4 separate regions of the Homo sapiens genome follow, and all the other regions are linked to region 1. The links are contacts of gene promoters, found by promoter capture Hi-C in blood cells and fetal thymus (Javierre and others, 2016). All regions are on one chromosome and are shown on one strand. The core of a region is centred on a gene start or on the middle of the fragment in contact, and the rest is flanking DNA. Distances in the headings are between cores, read along the strand shown. Region 1 holds the start of AARS1 (alanyl-tRNA synthetase 1). Region 2 overlaps VAC14 (VAC14 component of PIKFYVE complex). Region 3 overlaps MTSS2 (MTSS I-BAR domain containing 2). Region 4 overlaps SF3B3 (splicing factor 3b subunit 3).

Evidence for each region. Contacts are between HindIII fragments. The CHiCAGO score rates a contact against its expected background, and 5 or more counts as called.
Region 2: a contact is called between a fragment that was not itself captured here and the fragment with the promoter of AARS1 in region 1, in 1 of 17 cell types (fetal thymus). The highest score is 6.1, in fetal thymus.
Region 3: a contact is called between a fragment that was not itself captured here and the fragment with the promoter of AARS1 in region 1, in 1 of 17 cell types (fetal thymus). The highest score is 5.2, in fetal thymus.
Region 4: a contact is called between a fragment that was not itself captured here and the fragment with the promoter of AARS1 in region 1, in 12 of 17 cell types (erythroblasts, megakaryocytes, naive CD8 T cells and 9 more). The highest score is 23.5, in erythroblasts.

Annotation. Positions count from the first base shown.
Region 1 is chr16:70,288,147-70,290,879 of GRCh38, forward strand. AARS1 (alanyl-tRNA synthetase 1) reads right to left here and starts at 1,360. Exons shown (of 21, transcript NM_001605.3): 1 at 1,275-1,360. It also overlaps a transcript of DDX19B not described here. RefSeq lists a silencer at 576-705. The HindIII fragment of the contact is 11,417 bases long and covers 1-2,733 here.
Region 2 is chr16:70,783,140-70,785,872 of GRCh38, forward strand. VAC14 (VAC14 component of PIKFYVE complex) reads right to left here. Exons shown (of 19, transcript NM_018052.5): 3 at 2,563-2,730; 4 at 1,637-1,699; 5 at 974-1,081; 6 at 306-415. Among named protein-coding and RNA genes, the nearest start is that of TRG-GCC2-5, 5.0 kb to the right of the region's middle. The HindIII fragment of the contact is 180 bases long and covers 1,394-1,573 here.
Region 3 is chr16:70,673,515-70,676,247 of GRCh38, forward strand. MTSS2 (MTSS I-BAR domain containing 2) reads right to left here. Exons shown (of 15, transcript NM_138383.3): 11 at 792-1,014. Among named protein-coding and RNA genes, the nearest start is that of MTSS2, 11 kb to the right of the region's middle. The HindIII fragment of the contact is 2,596 bases long and covers 81-2,676 here.
Region 4 is chr16:70,548,599-70,551,331 of GRCh38, forward strand. The region is part of intron 11 of SF3B3 (splicing factor 3b subunit 3); the gene reads left to right. Among named protein-coding and RNA genes, the nearest start is that of SNORD111, 12 kb to the left of the region's middle. The HindIII fragment of the contact is 2,144 bases long and covers 273-2,416 here.

The sequences.
Region 1 (2,733 bases), core at 110-2,609:
GGCTGGAGTGCAGTGGCGCGATCTCAGCTCACTGCAAGCTCCGCCTCCCGGGTTCACGCCATTCTCCTGCCTCAGCCTCCCGAGTAGCTGGGACTACTGGGACTACGGGCGCCAGTCACCACGCCCGGCTATTTTTGTATATTTGGTAGAGATGGGGTTTCACCGTGTTAGCCAGGATGGTCTCAATCTCCTGACCTCGTGATCTGCCCACCTCGGCCTCCCCAAGTGCTGGGATTACAGGCGTGAGCCACCGCGCCCGGCCGCCTTCCCCTTCTTGATAAGGCTCCCCCTCTTTTACTGTCTCACAGCCTCAAGTGTTTCCCTTCATAATTTCCATACGCGCTTCATGGATTGTTTAATGTGCGCCTCCCCCATCAGGCTGTCAGTTCCATCCCAGCAGCAACGACTGTTCTGGGCTCTTTTTTTTTTTTTTTTTTTGAAACGGAGTCTCCCTCTGTCACCCAGGCTGGAGTGCAATGGTGTGATCTCAGCTCACTGCAACCTCCGCCTGCCGGGTTCAAGCGATTCTCATGCCTCAGCCTCCGGAGTGGCTGAGAGTACAGGCGCGCGCCGCCACGCTCGGCTAATTTTTGTATTTTTAGTAAAGACGGGGTTTCACCATGTTGGCCAGGCTAGTCTCGAACCCCTGACCTCAGGTGATCCGCCCGCCTCGACCTCCCAAAGCGCTGGGATTACAGGCGTGAGCCTCCGCGCCTGGCCCTGGGCTATTACAGCACATCCTCAGCATCTAGTACAGTGGCTGCTAAATACGTATTTCGTGATCAGGTATACTAATCCTTTAACACCAAGTTCGGAATTAACTCACATGCTTCAAAGCACACCGAGAAATACAAACTGTTTTACAGAACAGCTTAAGATGACGGTCTCGGTGCGCCTGGACCGGCATCAGCTGTTTAGTTAATTTTAAGAAATCAAGGAATGGCTGGCTTACAGCAGGATTGCACCCAGCTGGCCCATCCTTCCTCCCGTGCCCCCACCCGCCCCTAGGGGATTAAAACCAAGGGAGCTAAAACCCCAGGTTGGCAACCGTGAGGTATTGGTGCTCAGCAAATCCACCCGAGGCCGCGACACTCGCAGCGCTCCCGGGGGCGAACGCAAGGCCACACTGTCCAGCTCCCGCTCCAGCCCAGACTGGGCTTCTCCAGGCCACGCGGGGCCTGATCCTGGGGCCCACTGCGGCTGCGGAGCTTTCCCCCCAGTCTGCGGGCCCAGCCGCTCTCCTAGCACCGCAGAGCTCTCCGAGGGCGGCCTACCTCTCCTAGGGTCGCCGTCCCCAGCTCCTCCCTCAGAGTCCCCCGCCAAGGGCCCGCTGCACCTATTCCCGCAGACGCGCAGCTGTACCGGCCTCAGACCACGACCTACCACAACCCGCCACGCTCCGTCCAATCAGAGCGCGCCGACGGAAAGTGCCCCGCCGCGCCTTACCTCATGAGATATTATTGGTCAACCAACATGCCAGTCAAACTGAGGACGAATCCGTTCATTAGTGGATTCCTGGGAAGGCGGCTCTAACTTGGCTGATGCAACTGCGAGAAAAGGTGGGATGGGGTGCGTCACATGATCGAGTTAGACCCCCCCCCGCCCCCCCCGCCCCCCCCCGCCCCCGGCTCCCGGAGGTCGACATTTTGGTTTCCATAGGCAAAGTCCTAACACCACAATTGACATAGTTAAAAAGGGGAGACGGTAACGTGTTTGGTAGAGGTTACATATCTTGCTATAGTTGTTTATTTTAGTTGCTGAGTGATACACAGCCCTCAAAGAGTCTGACATTGTGCCCATGGTTACACTTGTCCGGGGGAGACCTTGAATTTGGTGTGGAAGAAATAACATCAGTAGTTCAGGTACGATTGGATCAGCATCTGGTCCTCGATTTGCCTTTGGAAAAAAAAAAGTTAATATTTATAGGCCTGGGGGAGGAGGGTGAATATATATATATACATATACATATATACATGCCAGGTGCGGTGGCTCACGCCTATAATTGCAACACTTTGGGAGGCCAAGGTGGGAAGATCACCTGAACCCAGGAGTTGGAGACCAGCCTGGTCAACATAACTAGACCCTGTCTCTACGAAAAATTTTTTAAAAGGCCGGGCGCGGTGGCCCACACCTGTAATCCTAGCACTTTGGGAGGCTGAGGCCAACGGATGACGAGGTCAGGAGACCGAGAGCATCCTGGCCAACATGGTGAAACCCCGTCTCTACTAAAAACACAAAATTAGCCGGGCGCGCATCTGTAGTCCCAGCCACTCGGGAGGCTGAGGCAAGGGAATCCCTTGACCTCGGGAGGCGGAAGTTGCGGTGAGCCGAGATGGCGCCACTGCACTCCAGCCTGGCTACGGAGCAAGACTCCGTCTCAAAAAAAAAAATAAAAAATAAAAATTAGCCAGGCATAGTGGCGCATGCTTGTAGTCCCAGCTACTTGGGAGGTTGAAGTGGGAGGATCACTTGAGCCTAGGAAGTTGAGGCTGCAGTGAGCCCTGATCGTGACACTGCATTCCTTGGGCGACAGAGCGAGGCCCTGTCTGAAAAATATGTATGTATTTATACGTGAGGCATTGCATCAAACATTTCACATGCTTATTTCATTTGATTTTTAAACTGTGTATGAGGTCAGCTGGAGTCCCCTTTTTACAAATGAGGAAATTACCTTGCACAAGTTCACACCCAATAGTAAGTTGTGGAGACAGGATCCAAACCTGTGTCTATTTA
Region 2 (2,733 bases), core at 234-2,733, 500 kb after region 1:
CTATGAACAAGAACAGGAAAGTGGAAACAGCGAGGGTCAGCCAGGGCTGGAGGAGCCTCAAACCAGCCCCATTTCCGTGCTGGGTCAGCCACCCAGAGGGCGGCTTGGCTTTTGGACTTGTCAGGTGATCATTTTCAGATGCTGGGGGTTGATGGGCTCTTGGCTCCTCAAAGCGGGAAGCACAAGAGCCAGGAAGAAGAGGTGATTTCCTGCCCTCCTGCCGCGGCCTCTCTGTGGGCATGAAGCACATGGGCACAGCTGGGGGTGGCAGGAGGCAGCAGCTTCCTGCCCCTTACTCCACTCACATTTTGCGAATCTCTTTGCCATTGTCACCCAGGATCTGGAAGAGTCCATCCAGGATCTCCGGCAGGTAATCCAGCAGGTTAATGTCTGGCACCGACTCCAGAACCAGGATCTGACCAGGGGAAGGGAACAGGAGGGGAAGTCAGCTCCAGAACCCTGTTTCCTGCTCACCAAGCCTCTGGGACTGGGCTGTAGGAAGGGGACCCTGCTGAGACAGCATTTCCCTGCAGTGCAGGTGTCCCATGTGGGAGGAGGGTGCTGGCAAGGACAGTCAGCATTTCTTGTTTAATGTGCAGGGGAATGGCAATTTGACTCTAAGGAAATTCGGATGCCCAGGGGAGAAGGGGATGGATGGGGAAGGACAGAAAAGGCTAGAAAAAGTGAGATTGCTGGAAGTAGCACTGCTGGCTTTAAAGGAAACTCAGGTGTTTTCTGGGACAAGGAAAGAACTGGACTCCCTTCCAGGGCAACAAGAACCTGATCCCTTCAGGGCCAACATGGTGGGTTTCGGGGGCAAAGCTGAATAAGGTGTTTTTGAATTATCAGGTGTTAATGGCTATTCAAGGGAGAACATGGAGGGTTCCTATAGCCAAAGGGCCTGACAAGAGTGTGCTAGAGAGCAGATTTTCCAAACTGGAGGCTGGAGAAACGGTGTCCGGCCAGGCCTTACCCAGGAGATGATGAACTGCCGGGCATACTGGTTGTTGGAGTAAATCCTCTCTCGCAACAAGGGGATGAAGCTCACCAGGTCAAACTTGTTGCTCTCAGTCACAATGTCCTGTGGATCAGAGGAAAGTGAGCTGCCGAGAGCCCGAGACCAGGGCTGCCTGACCTCGCTGAATCACTTGCCCAGGGCTGGCTCCAGCGCTCAGGCGGCCACCAAGGAAAATGGCAGATCCTGAGCTAGGCATAAGAGGTCTCTGGAGTATTCATCCTGTCCCAGTCCACGGGATACGAAAAACGGGTAGATTGAAAGCAGGAAGCAAAGTCGAGAGAACCAACTGAATGGCAAGACCCTACTCTCTGTGGTCTGGATGGAATGCCCAGGCCCCTGCTGTCAGGGCCAGAGAGGTGTGGAAAGTGACAGGCAAGCTTCTTTGCTCTAGGTGGCGGCAACAAAAGGGGACATTTTGGGTGATGGCACAGTTCTGTATTTGATAGTGGTGATTGAGCTCGATATTCTTGTCATAGAACTGCACACCAGGGAGTACATGTAAATTTAAAATATATTTTAAATTCAAGAAGAACATTCCCAATGACAGAATTTCTAAGCTTTACAGACAGACGGGAGAAACAGATTGTAGAAATAAAAGTGGGGACAAAGTACAAATACCTTTAAAAGGCGGTCTAGGAGCTCAGATCCGCTTTTCACATTGGGGTCTGGGTCGGCTGCCAGCTGCAAGAGGCACAGACAGGGGAGGGACACAGAGGCGAGGGTCACGGTTGGATGCAAGACCAGGGATTTCCTGCAAATCCGCAGCCGAGGCCTTGGTGCAGCCCAGAACATCTAGCAAGAACATCACCCTTTCGGTGAACACATTTGAGAAAGGCTGGGAAAGTGGGAGTGGGTACAATGGAGTTGGCTGAGGAGCAGATTCAGGAAATACCCTTCTGTTCAGGGACTTCTCCCATGACCCGCTGGGGTTCCTGTTCCCTGTTGTGACTGGGTCACGGGGTTGCTTCCCGTCAGCCTTCCCCAGGGGTTTCCAATCTTAAAGCGCTGGGTCCTTGTTCCACTCCTGGAGGAGGGGACAGGGTAGCTGCGAGGCTGATACTCTAGAAACTTCCGTGGCATTCTGCAGGGGCAGCAGCATTGCAGGGCTGCTCCGCGCCTGGGAAGGGAACTCCACCAGGCTGCAAGAGGCACGGAGGAGAGCATGAGCTTTTTCTAGGGCACTTATGAGCTAGACTAAGTGCAGCCCTCCCTAAAGGGAAAGTACGGTCTGGATGATGGCGTCAGCATCATCCCCTTCTACCAGGGAGGCGAGTGTTTCACAGACTATCAGCTTCTTCCCTCTACTGTATGGCAGACTGATACTTATATCAAATGCAATCAAAATGAATTAAAAGAGAAATGAAAAAAGGTATAAATGCAAGTCCATTAAAAATGATTAGATTCAACAGACAGTAAGTGTCCCTTGCAGCCACATGCTTGTTTGCTCTGCTTGCATCTGGGAAAAGGGGTCCAAGGTTCCAGAAGGTCAAGTGAGGTGGGGGAACCAAGCGCAGCTCAGTGAGGAGGAGGAGGAGGGCGGTTACCTTGCTCAGCCCGTCAAAGAGCACGTTGAAGTGGGGCAGCACAGCGCCCCGGGCCACCTTGACGATGTTGTAGAGGGCCTCGCAGGCATAGTAGCGCAGCCTGCTGTCTGCATCATTGAAGCAGGTCAGCACTGGCTCGATCAGCTCCTTCAGGTAGAGCCCTGAGTCCTG
Region 3 (2,733 bases), core at 129-2,628, 390 kb after region 1:
AAAACTGAGAGTTTACAACTACAGATCTATTCTAAAAGAACTTCTAAAAGATGTTTTTTACTTCAGAAAGAAAGAAAATAAGCTTTGGAGGATTTGAGATGCAAGAAAAAAATGACAAGAAATGTGTATTAACATATGGGTAAATCTAAATAAGTACTGTATGTATAAAATAAAGAAATTAAGAAGAAAAATGTCATTTGTGGGTACTGTAAAAAAAAAGAGAAAATAATATAGCTTGTAAGTTTGAGAAGGAGTGGGTGACAAGTAAAAAAATATATATTAAGGGCCTTGAATTACTCAGGAGGTGGGGTTGTGTTAAGTATGCATATGGTAAGATTTCAAGGTAACCTATAAAAGAAAAGAGACAGAATATAACTTACAATCCAGCAGACGGGGAATAAGAGAAAAGAAAAAACAAAGTCAAGGGTAGAGACAAGAATTCAGGACAAATAGAAAGAAGAAAGCCAGAAGTCCAAATATGTCAGTAAATACAAAGGGGCTAAAAATGGCAATTAAAAGATAGAGGTTGTCAGATTGGATAAAAAAAGAAAATCTAGGCATTATGCTGCTTACAAGAGACTCATTTAAGATATAAAGATATGTGAATTTAAAAGCAGAGATAGAAAATAATAATATAAATACTGAACAGAATAAAGGCCTTGGGGGCCTTCAGGCCAGTCTCAACAGCTATAGTAGTCTCAACAGCTATAGTAGTCCCGCATGTGGCTTGCCTGATGCTGGCATAAGGCTGCTGCACCCCACCCTGACTGATCCTCCTAACGCCCCCTCACCTGGCTGGTGATGTCTGAAGGCATAGGCGAGGGGGGCTTGGAGTAGGTGGCGTCCTGGGAGACGAAGCCAGAGTCATGGGAGGAAACGCTGGAGAGGCGAGCGGTGGTGGTGGCTGGCTGCGCCAGGCTGCGGTAGCGACAGGTGGAACTGGGTGAGTATGTTTGGGCACCCCCAGGCCATGGGGCTCCGCCACCCTTGGCACTGCTACTGCTGCTGGGGGCACTAGGGGAGTGAAGGAAGAGGGCACAGCAGCCAGACAGGGAGACAGAGGGGTGTGTGTTTGGGGGAGGTTGACAAACGAGGGTGGGGAAAGAGGTGAGGGGCAAAGGAAGGAAAAGACAATGTCAGACTAGGAGGTCCTGAGACCCAGGTGCTACACAGGAGCTGTGTTCTGGGACGGTGTGGAAGGGGAGGGCCAGAGCAGGGTACCCCCAGCCCCAGTGCTGAGGGGAGCCGTGGTCAGGGAATGCCCAGGGTGAGGCAACCTCTCTGCCTCCTATTCTGCCACTAAGAACAGTTGTCCAGGCTGGGCACAGTGGCTCATGTCTGTAATCCCAGAACTTTGGGAGACCAAGGCGGGTGGATCATTTGAGGACAGGAGTTCAAGACCAGCCTGGAGAACATAGCGAAACCCCATCACCACTAAAAATGCAAAAGTTAGCTGGGCATGGTGGCGCATGCCTGTAATCTCAGCTACTTGGCAGGCTGAGGCACGAGAATCACTTGAACCTGGGAGGCGGAGGTTGCAGTGAGCCAAGATTATGCCACTGCACTCCAGCCTAGGAGAGCAAGGCTCTGTCTTGAAAAAAAAAAAAAGAAACAAGAAACAGTTGTCCTGTCTGGGCGTGGTGGCTCACACCTGTCCCAGCACTTTGGGAGTCTGAGGTGGGTGGATTGCTTGAGTCCAGGAATTTGAGACCAGCCTGGGCAATAGGGTGAGACCCTGTCTCTACAAAATATATGAAAATTAGCCAGGCGTGGTGGTGCACACCTGTATTCCCAGCTACTTGGGAAGCTGAGGCAGGAGAATCGCTTGAACCCGGGAGGTCGAGGCCACAGTGAGCCATGATTGTGCCACTGCACTCCAGCCTGGGTGACAGAGCGAGACCCTGTCTCACAATGACAACAAAACCCAAAAAACCCACCAAAAAACCTATTGGTTTCACCAAAGATCTTAATCTAGATTCCTATATCCTAAAGAATATATCTTTATCACTGAGGCCTCAGCCTCCCGAGTAGCTGGGACTACAGGCACACACCACCATGCCCGGCTAATTTTTTTGTATTTTTTAGTAAAGACGGGGTTTCACCGTTTTTACCAGGATGGTCTCAATCTCCTGACCTCGTGATCCGCCTGCCTCGGCCTCCCGAACTGCTGGGATTACAGGCGTGAACGACTGCCCCCGGTGAGTCCAATCATTCCTAAACCACCTTCTCAAAATCTGGTATTTGCCATCCAGTCCTAACTGGATGTCTAGCATATGGTGATGGTGTGTGTGCGTACAGAGGTCACCTTCCAAGTGGGTCCTGCACCCACCATCACCCTCACTCTCTCCAATCCCTCAAGGGTGTCCAGCCCTCTATGGCTCACACCCTCAGCACAGCAATTCAACCCTTGGGTGGTGTTCCTGGCTAAGCGTGACCCTGAAGCCTCCCAGCCTCTGCCCCTGCTCATGGCTGTCCCCTGCAATCAGCCCCTTCACTGTGGGACGGCCACCCACGCAGGGTCTGAAGAGCCTCTCTCTGAGGTAGTAGCTGATTGCTGTGCCTGGCTTCTCCCAAGCTCTGGATGTCCAGCCAGTGATTCTGGGGAGAGGGGTGCCTGGCAAAGGGGGGCCCCCACCAGCACTTCACTCTGTGCTTACTGTCCTCCCCACCCAAGGAAGCTTGAACCATCAATGTCTCCTCCAAACCCAGCCCCAGTGCCCAGCCAAGGAAAGG
Region 4 (2,733 bases), core at 95-2,594, 260 kb after region 1:
AGGATGCCTTCACCTACCATTTCTTTTTGTGCAGGTGGGAAAGGGGGAACATAGGTTGGCTGTTATATTTTAGTACATAAAGGTTTCAGAATCATAGAGCTGTCAAATGTGGTATTGACTTTATATTCATAAAGGTACTGGTTTCATCTGTAAGAGGTATGATATGAGGGAAAGTTGTGCTTTTTCATTCTTCTTCAACTATATTCTTTTAAATTGTTTTGAAACCACAGTGAAATTGAAGGTGGTGTTCTAGGAATTAAGAGATTTGGGAAAGCTTGTTAGTCAATCTTGCTAGTGCTTAAGGAAAGCAGAGTGGAATTGAGTGGAATTCGAATTTTAGTGTGAGTAGAAAAGCGGGGATGGGGAAGGAGAAGGGAGTTTGAGCTCCTGGATATAAATGGTCACCTGATCCTAAAACTTTGAAAGTAATAGGAGAATGCCTAGTAGTTACTGCAATAGCAGGAAAGTCTTGTGACAATTGAATTGCAGCCTCATAGAAAGAAAGCTCAGTCTCATTTTCCCTTGATTCACATTGGAGCTACGTTTTTCTCTTGTTCTCTCAGGAATGTGGGATGGGTGAGTAACATCATCCTTGCTAGCAGACAGGTTTTTCAAGAAAACAGCTGTAATTCTGCCTGATATTTAGATATTCTGCCTGTATGAAACAGATTGAAGGAGTTGGGAGACATGTAGGAGGAAAACAACTTACTATTAGTAGAATACTCATTTTTGTGGATTTAATTTTCATTGTAGGCATTTGAATCATATCCAAGTTGAGTAGAAAGGGAAAATTGTGAATAGGAAATGGGTAGGCTTATAAGCTGAAGAGATAATTATTAGGCACCTGGTTTTATGTGTAGTATCTACATAGAAGTTGGTCCGTGTTGGTGTTTTACTTTGGCTTGGTGGCTTGTTGATATTCATGGCCCTTGAAAGCATTGCCTAGACTGTTTGAATTAGAAACACGTTTTAAGATAACCTATTGTGTTCTTTCTTTTTTTCTTTTAACTTTTTAAATAAACTTTTTATTTTAAAACAGATTTAGGGCCAGGTGCGGTGGCTCATGCCTGTAATCCCAGCATATTGGGAGGCCGAGGTGGGCGGATCATCTGAGGTCAGAGTTTGAGACCAGTCTGGCCAACATGGTGAAACCCCATCTCTACTAAAAATACAAAAATTAGCTGGGCGTGGTGGTGCAGGCCTGTAATCCCAGCTACTTAAGGGGCTGAGGCAGGAGAATCACTTGAACCTGGGAGGCGGAGGTTGCAGTGAGCCGAGATTGCACCACTGCCCTCCAGCCTGGGTGACAGAGCGAGACTCCATGTCAAAAAAAGAAAAAGAAAAGAGATTTAGGTTTACAGAAAAGTTAACTCTCACTTTTATGAAGAAGACAGGAAGTTATAGGGGTTGAGTGTCTCAAGACACAGTCTAGGTAATGGGGACAGAATATCCTGGCTTCTGAATCTCAGTTGAATGCCCATTTTGATTAACTGCAGTGAGATTCTGTGGGTCTTGGTGGTTTCTTTCAGGATAAGTTTAGTTTTTGAGTGCCCACCATGTACTCAGTGATTAAGATAGACTCTGCCTCAGAGCACTTGCCATCTAAAAAAAGAAGACAAGTATACAAAAGTGTTGTGTGTTGTGATGTGGTGAAAGGCACAGGTACATTGCTGGGAGGGGTTAAAGGAGAGGGCATGTGTTTGAAGGTCAGGGCAGGCTCTTTAGAGGGACAGCATTTGCTAACTTAGTGATAGGCCGTTTGTTGCATTATGGAACTTGTAGTTGAACATTTTTCTCCTTTATTAAATGTTAGAAGTCTTGGAAAGGACTATATCCTGCTAAATTTTACTCTTTAGGTACTGTAATTTGGGAGTCACCTATAAATACAGGTCGGGTTCTGTTGGTTCACTCACTTTCCAGATACCCGAAGTTACTATTGAGTGAACATTCCTTCTGCCTGCACATGCAGCAGTCTTCCAGGCAAATACTAACCTTGGCTGGTACTTGGTGATGCACACTACCAATACCAAGCCTTTTTTTCTCTTCCACAGGTGGCTGGTGAAGGTGCTGATCACCACAGGTGTGTACCTAACTGCTAGGGTCGATGTGGGGTCTTATAGTTTATCCAAGGAGAGGGACCTGCACAAAATATTGAGGCTGCCCTGATGGTGTCTTTCAGAGGGTAACTTTGCAGTTGGATGTCACTGGGCATAATAGTGCTGCACACCATCTGCCTGTGCATCAGATGGTCTGAGGCAGGAGTCTGCCTCTCTACTTCCTCCCACAGAATTTGTCATATATGGTTAATTTGCCTTTTACTAAGCTAAAAGAGTCTCTAGCTAGAGAACTTTAGCTTCATACTCTCATAGAGTTGTACATTCCAGGTGTACTGACTGAAAGATCAGGACCGAGAGAAAGCTTTTGAGTATATTCAGGACTTGCTGAAGCAAGATAAGTATCAGATACCCTTGTCTATGAAGTGAGAGGGAGTTACTTGAGCTTCAGGTATCTGGATGGTCGCTCACTTTACCTTTTGGAGTGAGCTGCTGGTTGAGCCTTAAATCCTAAGGCAAGGCAAGTAGAAGAAAAAAGCATTCCCTCCTCTGGGGTCCTTAGCAGTGTTCAGACAGATGGGAGCCCTGTTGAACTGTGACCTAAAGATACAGTCTCATACCCTTATGGATTCTTCATTGAGGTATGAACTATTGTTTTTTAACATGAGACTTGAATTCC